3 separate regions of the Homo sapiens genome follow, and all the other regions are linked to region 3. The links are contacts of gene promoters, found by promoter capture Hi-C in blood cells and fetal thymus (Javierre and others, 2016). All regions are on one chromosome and are shown on one strand. Each heading gives the region's core, a stretch centred on a gene start or on the middle of the fragment in contact. The rest is flanking DNA. Distances are from core to core; before and after follow the strand shown. Region 1 has its middle 15 kb from the start of KLLN. Region 2 overlaps ATAD1 (ATPase family AAA domain containing 1). Region 3 holds the start of STAMBPL1 (STAM binding protein like 1).

Region 1 (3,995 bases), core at 1,232-3,731, 1.0 Mb before region 3:
GGAAAGGAAGTAATTTCCTAGTTATGTAACTTTTTTTTTTTTTTTTTTGGAGACAGAGTTTTTGCTCTTGTTGCCCAGGCTGGAGTACGATGGCGCAATCTTGGCTCACTGCAACCTCCACCTCCCGGGTTCATGCGATTCTCTCCTGCCTCAGTCTCCCGAGTAGCTAGGATTACAAACACCCGCCACCACGCCCTGCTAATTTTTTTTTTTTTTGTATTTTTAGTAGAGACAGGGTTTCACCTGTATTTTTAGTAGAGACGGGTTTTCACCATGTTGGCCAGGCTGGTCTCGAACTCCTGACCTCAGGTGATCCACCCGCCTCGGCCTCCCAAAGTGTTGGGAGTACAGGCGTGAGCCACCATGCCTGGCCTATGTAACATTTAAAGTAGAATTCTTAAGTGTATCCAATATTCATAAATACCATAGTAATTTGTTGCCATTGCCCATCAAAACATTAAAAAAACGAACAAGCATTTTTTACAATGGGAAATTTTACATCATTCTTTTTTCTCTTTGAACTTGAATTTTTTTTCCAATTCTGATACAGATTTTTATTTGGATGTAATATATATTATGTGTGAATATCTTTTATTGATGATGACTGTATCATATTTCCATGCAACAAATTTTATAAAAATTTAAATTGTGTTAAATTTTCTGGACCATAATGCTCCTCAGTGTTAAAAATTATTCCAAATTATCATTAATATTTTTGTATAATCAAATAAATACTTTTAAATTTTGATAATTATTAAATATAAAAAAATCAACTGGGCTTAAAAAATTGGTTTATATATCACAAATGAATTTTATATATTCCTAGAAGGAGACAAGTTCAGCATTAGATCATTTATCCCTAGTTTTTGCTTTTATGTTGTAAACATTGAGTAATATTATTCACATAAGTAGATGGTGAGTGAAAGGAAGTGTTTTAGCAGTGTTACTCATTTATTTGAAAGCTTCCCAAATTATATGTCATACATCACTTAGTGATCTTATTTGTAATGATTTTTCAATGAATAGTTTCAATAGGTTCTCCTTCAATTTACCAGAAAAAAAATTAATGTTAAACAGGTTAACTTTTAAAAGGGTTTGTTGGTAAAATTATTCAGCTACTTAGCAGCAATATCATTATTGCAGATGATCTCTTTAGCTCCTTGCAGGTTTTTACACTTTCAGGCAGTACATCGTTTCAGCATTCAGATGGAGAGGGGTATTCTGTTCTCTTTTAAAGTGGGATAAAGGGCACTGTGAAAGGGGAAATGGGGACAAGGAACTACTAGGTCCACTTGACTACACTAGTTCTGAGGCACATCAGATTTAGGAGAAAGTGTATATGGAAGTTATGGAATTGATTCTCTTGAAACTAAGAACCTTATTTCTCCTATTTGAAGACCACTACTCTGATGTTTATACCCAAAAGTGGAATTGCTTGTGTTGGAGTCTCCTAAGCTGTGTAACTGTTTCACTGAAGTCACATCACTGAGGACATTGCTGTGCCTCTCAAGGACTCAGGAACAGTCCCTCTGTCCATATATGTAAGTCATAGCAATCTTCTATATTTGGGAAAAATCCCTTGGTCGCCTTATTTAAATAACTGGTGAGCAATGAGTAGTAATCCATCAGTGTTCTATGAGACACCAAATTTCTTTCTATAATGTGGCTTTTGACAACTTCTGGAAGTATTTTTATTCATGATTCTCACATTTCTTTCTTTAAAGGGCATCATTAGTCTACCATCAACCAAGATGTTATACAAAGACAGCATCGTAATTCATTTACATTGAGTGCCCTAAAGCACAAATGCCTTTAAGGCCTTCTTTACTCTCTATTAATTGCAAAATAAACAGATGTCTACTGGAGAAGGTTATTAGAAATAATTTGTGCAGTTTGGGAGAACTAGGGGTCAGGATTCCTTGACTCAGCTTCTGAAACAAACTCAAGCCCACTAAACCACCAAGGTAACTACATCCAGAAATCTGCAAACCAGAAAATGTTTGCCCTGAATAAGGTAAAGGACAAAAAAGAATAAGGGCAAACATTTTCTGGTTTGCAGATTTCTGGATGTAGTTGCAAAGGACAGTACATTTCAAAAACAGAGTAATGGCCATTCTCAAGCAGGACTCAGTTTAATTCTACTTGAAAAGAGTGAGAACATTTAATGTGCCAAATTCAAGTCATAAGGAAAAGTTGACCAGTTAATAGGACAAATGCCACAACATTGTAAAATAAACAAGATTTGAAATGCAGAAAATCCTATTTTACAATGAACAAGTCTACAAGAACACAAGAATAAAGCACACCTTAATTAAGTCCTCCCTCTTACTTGTTTCAACAGGTGAGGTAGGAAAACAGTGGTCCTATGAGTGGCAGCAGCCAATGGCCTGGGGCTGCACCCTGGGAGCTAGCCAAGACAAAGATGCCATGTCCAGAAAAGAAATTTCAGAAATGACTTATGGCTCAGAGCCATGTATGTAAATGAGGTTATTTTTTTTTTCTCTGAAAATGGTCTGTTTCTATCCATTAGCTTTCTCCCAGTTCCCTGACTTCATAAAATTTATGTTAAGGATTTGAAATATTCCCAGATTAATTTTCAAGTACCATGACTTTACTTAGAGACTTCATTTTTCTTTAGGGTTCCCTGCAATGCAAACCTGTACCTTCTTTAATAAATGTAAATATTTAAGCCACGTGAGGTGGCTCACACCTGTAGTCCCAGCACTTTGGGAAGCTGAAGCAGGTGGATTACTTGAGGTTCAGAGTTCAAGACCAGCCTGGCCAATATGGTGAAGCCCTGTCTCTACTATAAATACAAAAATTAGCCTGGCATAGTGGTGTGTGCCTGTAGTCCCAGCTACTTGGGAGGCTGAGGCAGTAGAATCGCTTGAACCCGGGAGGCAGAGGTTACAGTGAGCCAAGACTGCCCCACTGCACTCCAGTCTGGGCACTCCGTCTCAAAAAAGAAAAAAAAAAAAAGTAGTACATTTAGTACAATTAAGTAACAAAAATCTACAAAAGGGAACTGTTCTATTATATTTAGAAAAGATAAAATTTCCCTCCTAAGCTAGTTCTGACATTAGGTTTTTCTATGGTATTCTTTCTGAAGTTCCTACAAGAGAGAAAAATCTAAATCACAATAGGAGTATTTTTTGAACTTATTCTATTGATCTTAAAACATTGTTTAATAAGAGACTTATAACTGGGCAGGGCCTAGAACTGCTTTATTTTATTATTTAGTGTAACCATGAAATTAAACAGTGGTCTACCATTGGGGACCAAGGTCAGATTCAAAAAGATTTAAATATAAATTAAAGCTACTACACATTTATGTGGTTGAAAAATCAAAAGGTACAAAACAACAGCATCACATATGATATCACTTGTGGCCCTTGCAGTTGTGTAACTTGGCAGTCCTGTATATATCACCTTCCCAGGGGATCTCTCAGCCATATCAGTTTCTTGTATATTAATAAGGGGAATCTTGAAAGATAGAGGTCAAGAGGAGAAAAATAGGGATTGGAAGAAAGAATGGCAAGAGAGGGCAGGAGAAAGGAGAGTGGAACGATGGACGAAAAGGGAAAGACTGAGGCCTTATACAAAGGATTGGCAACTTTCTCCCAGCCCTCTCTTGCAGTTGTCCTTGGTGTGTGTGTGTATATTTGTACATGAATAGAAGAGGAAGAAATGGAAAGCTGGTGGGGGCGGGGGGAAGCCACTTATCTGGGGAAGGATAGTGGTGAGCCCTGGAGAATTTTTAACTTAGTGCATGCATTACTTGAATAAAGTTCCTTGTATTGCCTTTTCTGATATCATTTTTATCTAGACTCATCCAAGAATATGTTAGTATTTTGAGATTTAGCTTTTGGGAAAAAATTCAAAGCTAATAAGCATAAATATTTGTGCAAGAAAGAGAAGCAGATATGCAGACCTCTACCACCTCTTACCAGAGACAAACTAACCTTTCTCCAGCACACATTGGCCTGATGAAATCT
Region 2 (4,340 bases), core at 955-3,454, 1.1 Mb before region 3:
CACGTGTGGTTGCACACTTCTGTAATCCCAGCTACTCCGGAGGCTGAGGCAGGAGAATCACTTGAACCCGGAAGAAGCAGGGTACAGCGAGCTGAGATTGTACCACTGCACTCCAGCCTGTGCAACACAGCAAGACTCCAACTCAAAAATAAATAAATAAATAAATAAATAAAACAAGATTTTTAAAAAATTATCAAGCTTCTTTAGCTGTTTTCAGCAGGAGTCAGTCTTGTTACCCATACTGACCTATTCATTCTTCACTGGCTGCACATCATCTTTCTATACCCTAAATAAAGGAAATGTATCAAGGCTTACGCTTCAGCTTACCAATTATGCTGCATTACACCACCTCTTTTGGAGACTTCATCACTCTTAGTATAGTCATTACCATTTATTACAGTGACAATTACATTAGAATTTCTCAACAAATATATGTATAAATCTTGATGGTGGTGAGGGGAGATGGGGAATAATTTGGGAAAAGTTCTACAAATGATATCTACACATACAGGAATAACCATATGGCCTACTCACTGTTCTAACGACTTCAACTACTTATAACCATCGATAAGGAAATATACCTCTGGATTGACCTTTTTTCTGAGATTCAGACCTGCAACTTCAATTGCTATATGAACATTTCCTCCTGAATTCCTACCACCAACACAAACCCAACATGGCCAGATCAAATGTCATCTTCTCATAAATTTGCCCTACCTACCAGTTTCCAAACCTCTATAAAAGATATTATAAGTCTTTGAGGTATCCAGACAAATCTTTGGTTCGTTTTTAAGATTTTAAGATGTCCTTTTTCTTTTCCCACATCATCACAAAGTCCTTCCTGCATTCATTTGTGTTAGTCTATTTCACTCAAGTCATTCCTTTTGTCACCCTCTTATTCTAAGTCTTTGCCAGGACTGTTGCAGTCTATCACCAACAGATCTTGCTTCTAGTACCTCTTGACTCCTATTCCTTCTGCATACTACTATAAGGTGAATTATCCTTAAAACATTGTATATCACCCACCCATTCAAATATATTTAATGAGTTAAGCCTACAGAAGTCTTCAATTGGTCAACAGCATATTTATTTATTTATTTATTTTTGAGATGGAGTCTCTCTCTGTTGCCCAGGCTGGAGTGCAGGGGTGTGATCTTGGCTCACTGCAACCTCTGCCTCCCGGGTTCAAGCAATTCTCAACCTCCCGAGTAGCTGGGTGTGCACCACTACGTCCGGCTAATGTTTTGTATTTTTATTAGAGATGGGGTTTCACCATGTTGGCCAGGCTGATCTCCAACTCCTGACCTCAAGTGATCTGCCTGTCTCGGCCTCCCAAAGTGCTGGGATTATAGGCGTGAGCCACCACATGGCCAGTCAACAGCATGTTTAACAGCTGGTCAGAGATGTAGGGAAGAGAAGAGGAGGGGTAACCAAGAAGCTATAGCCGTTGGCCAAGCAAATCCCATTTCATCCTGAGTGTTTTAAACACTGGTAAATTACTGTGGAATGGGATAATGCTAGAAGCAAAAAGTATCCCTCCTTTTCAGTTGATGATGGATTCTAAAATGCTGTGTATTTTTTATCAGCCTCAGTCCACCCAACAAAACAAAAAGGACCAAAGAAGGAAAAAGTAATGCATTCTATTTAAAACTGTCCTTGCCTACCCTAGAGGCCAAGCTCTTTCATGAAGCCATCTTCAACTACCACAATCACTGGTGACTACTATTTTCTCTAAGAGCCACAGTTTCTGTCTACACTACTCAATAAGCAACTGGGATATGCTACTTACTATTATAATTTATATTATCATGAACAAGTCTTTTCTCCCTATCATGGGCACTATGAAGGACATAATATCTAATGTTTCATATACCTAATATTTAGAATAATACTATACACATAATTTTCAATGAAGGCTTGTAGTACTTAGCATCTATATTTAGCTTTCTGTATGTCTTCTATATGTGTATTCAGGAGTTCTTAGAAGCCAAGGGGAAAAAAAGACAAAATTATCTTTAAAAGTCACACCTCTGCTTTTTAAAATGCTGAAACGATGTAACTTATAATATTTTGACATCATACTTAAACTGACTTTCATGATTCAGGTGGGAGAAAAAAACCCAACACTTAGGTTGACATATGGATATACTCAAACTAGTTTTTCTTTTTTTTTTTTTTTAAATCTACCCTGGTCAGACTTCCCAGAGACTTACAAATAGGCTGATAATATCATCTAGAACTTCAGTCAACTATTTTATAATAAAATTCAAGGAAAAAGTTCAGAATTCTCCAAAGTGCCTTTCAGATATATACTTATTGCAGTGTTTATAAAATTGTGGTTTTCACTTTTTACTGATTTAAGGGCTAACATTGTAAAACAGTCATTTATTTACATCCCTATTTCCCACAATAGCCTATAGCATTTTGAAAGAACAAGATTTATTCATCTTTTTTCTTTGGTACCAAGTAGTTGATAGGGACTCAATAAATGTTTATTGAATAAATCTGTCACAACTCACAAGACAGATCTAAAAATCCATGAATATCCTATTTAATTATTTTAAGATAAATTATGTTATTATACCATAAGATATTCAATAAGACATAAATATTTTAGTTATTAATTATTGTTTAAAAAAAAAGAGCCAGAAGGGAAAAGCCACCTAACAGCACAAAAAATCTGTAAGACTCCTTTAAGGTTTTTATGTTTTGATGACAAACAGAAACCAATCACCTTTAAAAGGAAATGAACACAAGAGGCAGCAGATAAAAAGTTAAAAACTACAGCTTATATTAATAATCAACAACTTTTACAGCAATTCATTAATTAGATTTTAGTGTAGCTTATAAGTTTAAGACTGAGAGCGTTTCAGTATTATCCACATTTCAGATGTCATACACAGCAAAAGGCATATCATTACTGAAGATAAATATTTTGGGTTAGCCTAAAAACTTTTATCTAGATCCTACCTCCAAAGCTGACAAAAATATTCTAATGAAGATGTTCACAATATTTTATTGTTTATTCATTTTTCTTCTGATAAGTTGTTTATATAGTAAAAAATGACTTGAAATAATGTCATAATAAACTAGTACTTTGTAAGAGTAATAAAACTATGAGTACCAATACATTTTCATGTGGGTCTTATAGAATTTCTCATTAATTTGTGAACTCTACCAAATTTTTAGTTTGAGGGGAAAATACTTGTTAGCCACAAGAAAAATGATCTTCAAACATTTCAATCATACCTGTTTCTGAGCTTCTACTTTTTGCTTTCTGGTTGGATCAATTGCATCTACCATCCATTTGATAGTAAAGTATGTCACTGCACCAAATATTGTCAAACGGAAAATTAAACCAACAACTTCATTCCGACTCAAAGGACGAGAAAAGGCTTCAGCATGTACCATCTTGAATGTTAACCTTAAAAAAACAAACAGAAATGTCACTAGGTAATAACTATACTTATTAAAATTGTAAGACTAACAAAGTAGCTTAAACTAAGAAAGAAAAACTAACTTCTAGTCAAATTAAAATATTACCTACCTTAAAAAAAGTGTTTCATTTTAAGGAGAAATGGATTTTTAAATGTTAAGTAAACAAATACATTTAAAGCTCCTCTTGCAAACTAGAAGTAGACTAGAAATTAAGATTTATTTGGTAGTAGAATTAATCATTTTATTTGAAAAATACAGTAAATATCTTAAGGTATTTACTCAAAACAGCTTTAAAGAACTATTTCAGAGTCTAGGAAAGTATCAACTATAACACTAATCCAACTGAAGAAAGGCAGCCCAACAATACTAATGTGACGGTAAGAATTTCTTCTATTAACTGTATCATATACCAGGTAATTTTTGAGTGAAATTCAAATTGTGAACTGACTCACTTTTTCCTCATACATACTTTTAAAGGTTTTCAAGGCCTGCTTAAATTTAAACATGCCATTTCCTCAGTAATAAGTGGTATTAACTTTTTTGAGCCACACTATTGTTCCCAACAACCGGGCTAAGTAGGAAGCAATAGAACTTGGAAAAATCTTGAACTGAGACAACTACTACAAGAATACAGCACTCACCCAAGCTAAAGAGAAAAAAAATGAGATAAATGTGCCTATTTTTGCATATATCCCTGAACAGCTACATCAATCAAAGCTAGGCTTACAGAAGACATACACTCCTCTGTCAATGGCAATAACTACCCGGAAGAATAAGCTTGTTAGGGATGATATGACTATCACATTTTGGGAGATAGGATCTTAGCTTCAAATACTGCCATTATACTCTCAGCACAGGAGTGTGCTGAATGCTATGGGATATATAAGAAAAAGAGAATATAT
Region 3 (4,029 bases), core at 105-2,604:
TCTGGTTCAATACTGCAAACTCAAATGCCTACCATATTCTCAAATGTCAGTGAGGTGGGGGTGTATGGGAGTGGTGGGGACTGTGGAAAACTGAAGAGTGTCTTCACAGTCTAAAGGCGACACCTGCTATTCAGCTTCAGCTGATGGTTGCTAGAACTCGCCATGGACCAAATGTCTGATGTTACGATTTTACAGAAAATGTGAAAAGTCTGAATTTCTGTGAAATTTCCTAACTTCAACATTTGGAACCAACTTAAAACTAAGCAAAACAACACTGTTGCTTCTTAAAAATCAAGGCTGCAGGCTGCCTCCAACAATCAAACTCTTCATTTAAAAAAAAAAAAAGAATCCAGGGAGATGAGGCTTAAGAAGGTGAAATGCTTGAGACCAAATAACTCAGTTGGTGGCTGAGCCAGGGCTAGAATTTTGGTTTCCAGAGGAAAGGCTAACTAAGAAAAGCCAGTGTTTCCCCACCCCACTCTGCAGCCATTTCTCTCACTTGGAAGTAAGCTCCCAACCAAGCTCAAGAAAAGCGACTCTATTTCATCCAGCAGCAGCAGTCTCCATAAAATGTTTATCAGTTAATAGAACCTGTGAAGCCAATAGAAACAGCTTTCAGTGTTGGATCAGAGTTTAAATTTCAGCTTCTACTGCTTTCTAGGTGAGTAACCTGGGATAAATTATTTTACTTCTCTGTCTCTCGTTCATGGAAAAAACAAAAACAAAAACAAAAAATGAGTCCCTTTTATATACAGGGTTGTGGCAGATGGACTAAGATTTTGTGTACCGACTGCCTGACACAGTGCCAGAACTGTAGTAAGAACACCACACGTGATAGTAACATAACATCCAGGAGATATTCTAATACTTCTTATTTTCCAAGTACACACAAATTGGGGGTAGGGGGAAGGGCTAAGATGCTTAATAGTGGGCGTAGCCAGTTGTGGATAAATATCAAAAAGGGAATCCTAACATGAAGTATAAGTGGGATTTTCACCAAAACCCTATCCTTCCCCAGACTCCAGTGACAGTTTAACGGTCAGCTGCATCAAGGCTTGTGTACTGTGCAGTCTTAAAAGGCACCACTCCTGTCCATCTCGGTGAAATTGATGGTGGAGCAAAAGGGAGTTTAGGTGGTTCCGGTCTGGGGAGAAGACGTGCAGGGTTTCAGATGCGAAAGTCGCACCCAACCGCTTCACTCGGGCTCTAGGCCATCCGCAGGGGCCCTGCTTCCTTCCACCTGCGAGCTTTTTCTGCAGAATGCGGGAAGCCGCCGCCGCCGCCACAGAGGAGGGGGCGGAGGCAGAGGCGGAGGCGGCACCCAGGGGCCGGGGCAGGGGAGGCCGGGACCATCGCAGTGACAATTTATTTTCCTGCAGCAGCGGCAGCAGGGACGGTTGCTGCAGGTTCGGGGTCGGCCGGCCTGCGCGTGGGCTTGCGAGGACGCTGTTCGTCCCCTGCGCTGGGGTGTCCGACAGCGAGGAGGAGAACGACGCACGGAGCCCGCGCGACTGGAACCAGCAAAGCTCCATCTGTCGGCAGAGGAGAAGGGGGAGGAGGCACGGCCGAGGCAAACGAGCGGACGCCTCGTCGCCGGGTGCCGGTATCACCCCGCTGCAACGCCTTCCAGCAAAAGCCACCGCGGCCCGGGTTGCAGCAGCCGGACGGATGCCAAGGCCACACGGCAGCCACGGGGGCAGCCGTCGCAGTCGCCGTCCCACACGGGCTGCGGACACCAAGGGTTGCTAGTGAGTAGCGGCGCGCGCGCGTGAGTGAGAGCGCGCACCGGACGGGGAAGTGCGCACGGCGGGTGCGTCTGCCTCGTGGCCTGGCGCGCGCCGGCCCTTCCGCTGGCAGCGTCCGGTCCCGGGCTGGCTCTAGGGGAGGAAAAAATGCACTTTGGCGGCTGATCGCTTCCTTCCTGCCAGTCATGCAATCGGCCGCCTCCATCGGCGCCGCCTGTATGCGCCCCTCCGCTGGGCCCTCTGGGTTAGTTTCACCTTGATAGGGAGGCAGGAAGACCTGGCTGCTGGTGGCAGGGCGGGACTCTGGCCGTGACCTATACGTGGGTGCGCCTGTTTTTTTGGTTCAGCCCTGGGTTGCAGCCTTGGAGATGATGTCGACCTTGGGAGAGACCACTGCACTGTCTCTAGCGGCGCGGTGTGGAGGAGGGAGGGGCGAGGGTTAGAAAAACGGACCTTTACCCCGGCCGAGCAGGTGCCATGCCTTTCCAGATGATGTTACTTTTATGCCCTTTATGAGCGACTAAGACATTGCCCCTCACCTGAATAACTTAAAGCTTTCGCTGAAAGCCCCCAGTGAGATGCACAAAGAAATGGAATGTCTCCAAAACATATTTTTTTCAGAACTTTCTCTAAAACAACCCACGCTGCTGATACCCCCAGAGCCTAAGGTGCCATAATTGCTGAAGTTTAAAAGAAAATTTATGTAAGGAATAAGTAATTCAGGAAACGGAACCCAATCTAGAGGTTTGAAAAAAAAAATCAAGTGCCTGGGAAGTGGGGTGGGGTGGCTTGCTTCCTGGAAATCAGTGTTCGGTAGTAAGTAAAAAAGACAGCTTTCAAAGTAAGCCCCAGTGAGCACACTGCTTTCCAAACATCTTGCTCATTACTGACAATAACATGAAGTCCTGGATTTTAAGCTATTTCCGAAGACATAATAGATATCACTAGGATGCTTGTTTATGGTCTCATGATTTAAGGCCCTGTCAAGGTCAATAACGTAGATTTGTTCCAGCAGATAAATTATACCTGAATGTTTGATTGTTCGTGTCAATTTTTTTGAGGGTAGGTTTTGACGGTTGTTTTACACAGAAATTAAGCCACCGTGTTTTGTTTTTATCCCGACCTTGTTTCCATTGGAAATTTTGTGTTTTCAGGATGGATGCTACATTGCACTTCAAAAATATACTCTGCCACTGGATTGTAGTGGGCATTGTGTAGCTACACTATACATATCTTTATTTTTAATACAAGTTAATGTGTCGCTGAGCAGTAGGCTCTTTTTGTTTACCATTTGCACCATGAGAGCTTCTCCATTCAAAGGCATAAAATGTTATTGGAATCTACCTGCAAAATGAATTGGCTGATTGTTTTCTGTTCAGACACAGATACAGCAAATTGCCACTAAGAATCTGCTTTTGCGTATACGTTGGCTGTAATTTATGTAGCAACTGGTTCTTGGGAATTTCAAGAAGAAACTTGTTTTCTTATCCTCACCTATAAAGTAAGCACCAAAATTTAAATTATAAGGCAGATAACCTAAGTCCTTTACCTCTATCTCAACCTTCAAGGCCTGTTTCTTGGTACTCTTGCCCTGTTTCATAGGATTCTTACGGTTTGTGGGAGGCTTGGAGGGAGTAGTGAGGAACCAGTTTCCTGAGGATGTCCTCAATAGAGAGATTTGCTTCTGGAGGAGAGAGTGTCTTTGGGGTTGATTCCTAAGAAGGACTGATAAAAATAGTTATAAAGAATTGTTAGTAATAGTTCTCTCTTCTTACTTTCAGCACATAGGACTTAATTAACACCGTTTGATCATTTCCTTCCTTTAGGACCCTTCCCAGCTGTAAGAATTTACAGCTACAATCCAAGAAATGAGATTGCATTTTACAAGAAAAGAAAACTGATGATTCTTGCCCAAAACATGAGAAGTAGAAGGAATGTGAGAGAAAATAATGTAGATTCCGTCCAGGAAGTGCTAGGTGCTTTCCTGGTGGGTACATTTACAAATTAGGGACATTTTAATTAATCTACTGGATTTGTGATTCTGTCTGCTACTATCTTCTTTTTCTTGACCTTATGAAAGATTTATAGATGGCTTCAACTGAAACTACAGGAAATGACTCATGGTTATCCCTGAAGATATTAGAGCCAGATTTCCATTCCTTAGGGCTGATGCATAGCAGCTCTTTGATAAATATTTGCTAAATAAATGACAAATTTTAGAATGTCTTTTTATTATTATTGTACTTTAACTTCTAGGGTACATGTGCACAACTTGCAGGTTTGT

What was found. The method cuts DNA at HindIII sites, captures the fragments that hold promoters and counts their contacts. A CHiCAGO score of 5 or more calls a contact.
Region 1: a contact is called between a fragment that was not itself captured here and the fragment with the promoter of STAMBPL1 in region 3, in 1 of 17 cell types (neutrophils). The highest score is 5.5, in neutrophils.
Region 2: a fragment that was not itself captured here is called in contact with the fragment with the promoter of STAMBPL1 in region 3 in 2 of 17 cell types (neutrophils and total CD4 T cells); the score reaches 5.1 in neutrophils.

What each region holds. Positions count from the first base shown.
Region 1 is chr10:87,846,830-87,850,824 of GRCh38, forward strand. No RefSeq gene overlaps it. Among named protein-coding and RNA genes, the nearest start is that of KLLN, 15 kb to the right of the region's middle. The HindIII fragment of the contact is 3,042 bases long and covers 961-3,995 here.
Region 2 is chr10:87,811,189-87,815,528 of GRCh38, forward strand. It overlaps ATAD1 (ATPase family AAA domain containing 1), which reads right to left. Exons shown (of 10, transcript NM_001321967.2): 2 at 3,250-3,424. The coding sequence starts at 3,411. Among named protein-coding and RNA genes, the nearest start is that of ATAD1, 4.9 kb to the right of the region's middle. The HindIII fragment of the contact is 4,017 bases long and covers 197-4,213 here.
Region 3 is chr10:88,878,891-88,882,919 of GRCh38, forward strand. It overlaps STAMBPL1 (STAM binding protein like 1), which reads left to right and starts at 1,355. Exons shown (of 11, transcript NM_020799.4): 1 at 1,355-1,748. LOC124902551 reads right to left here and starts at 1,774. Exons shown (of 1, transcript XM_047426134.1): 1 at 844-1,774. The coding sequence starts at 1,532. The coding sequence ends at 1,005. RefSeq lists a silencer at 1,244-1,373 and enhancers at 1,954-2,063, 3,084-4,029. The HindIII fragment of the contact is 2,730 bases long and covers 1-2,297 here.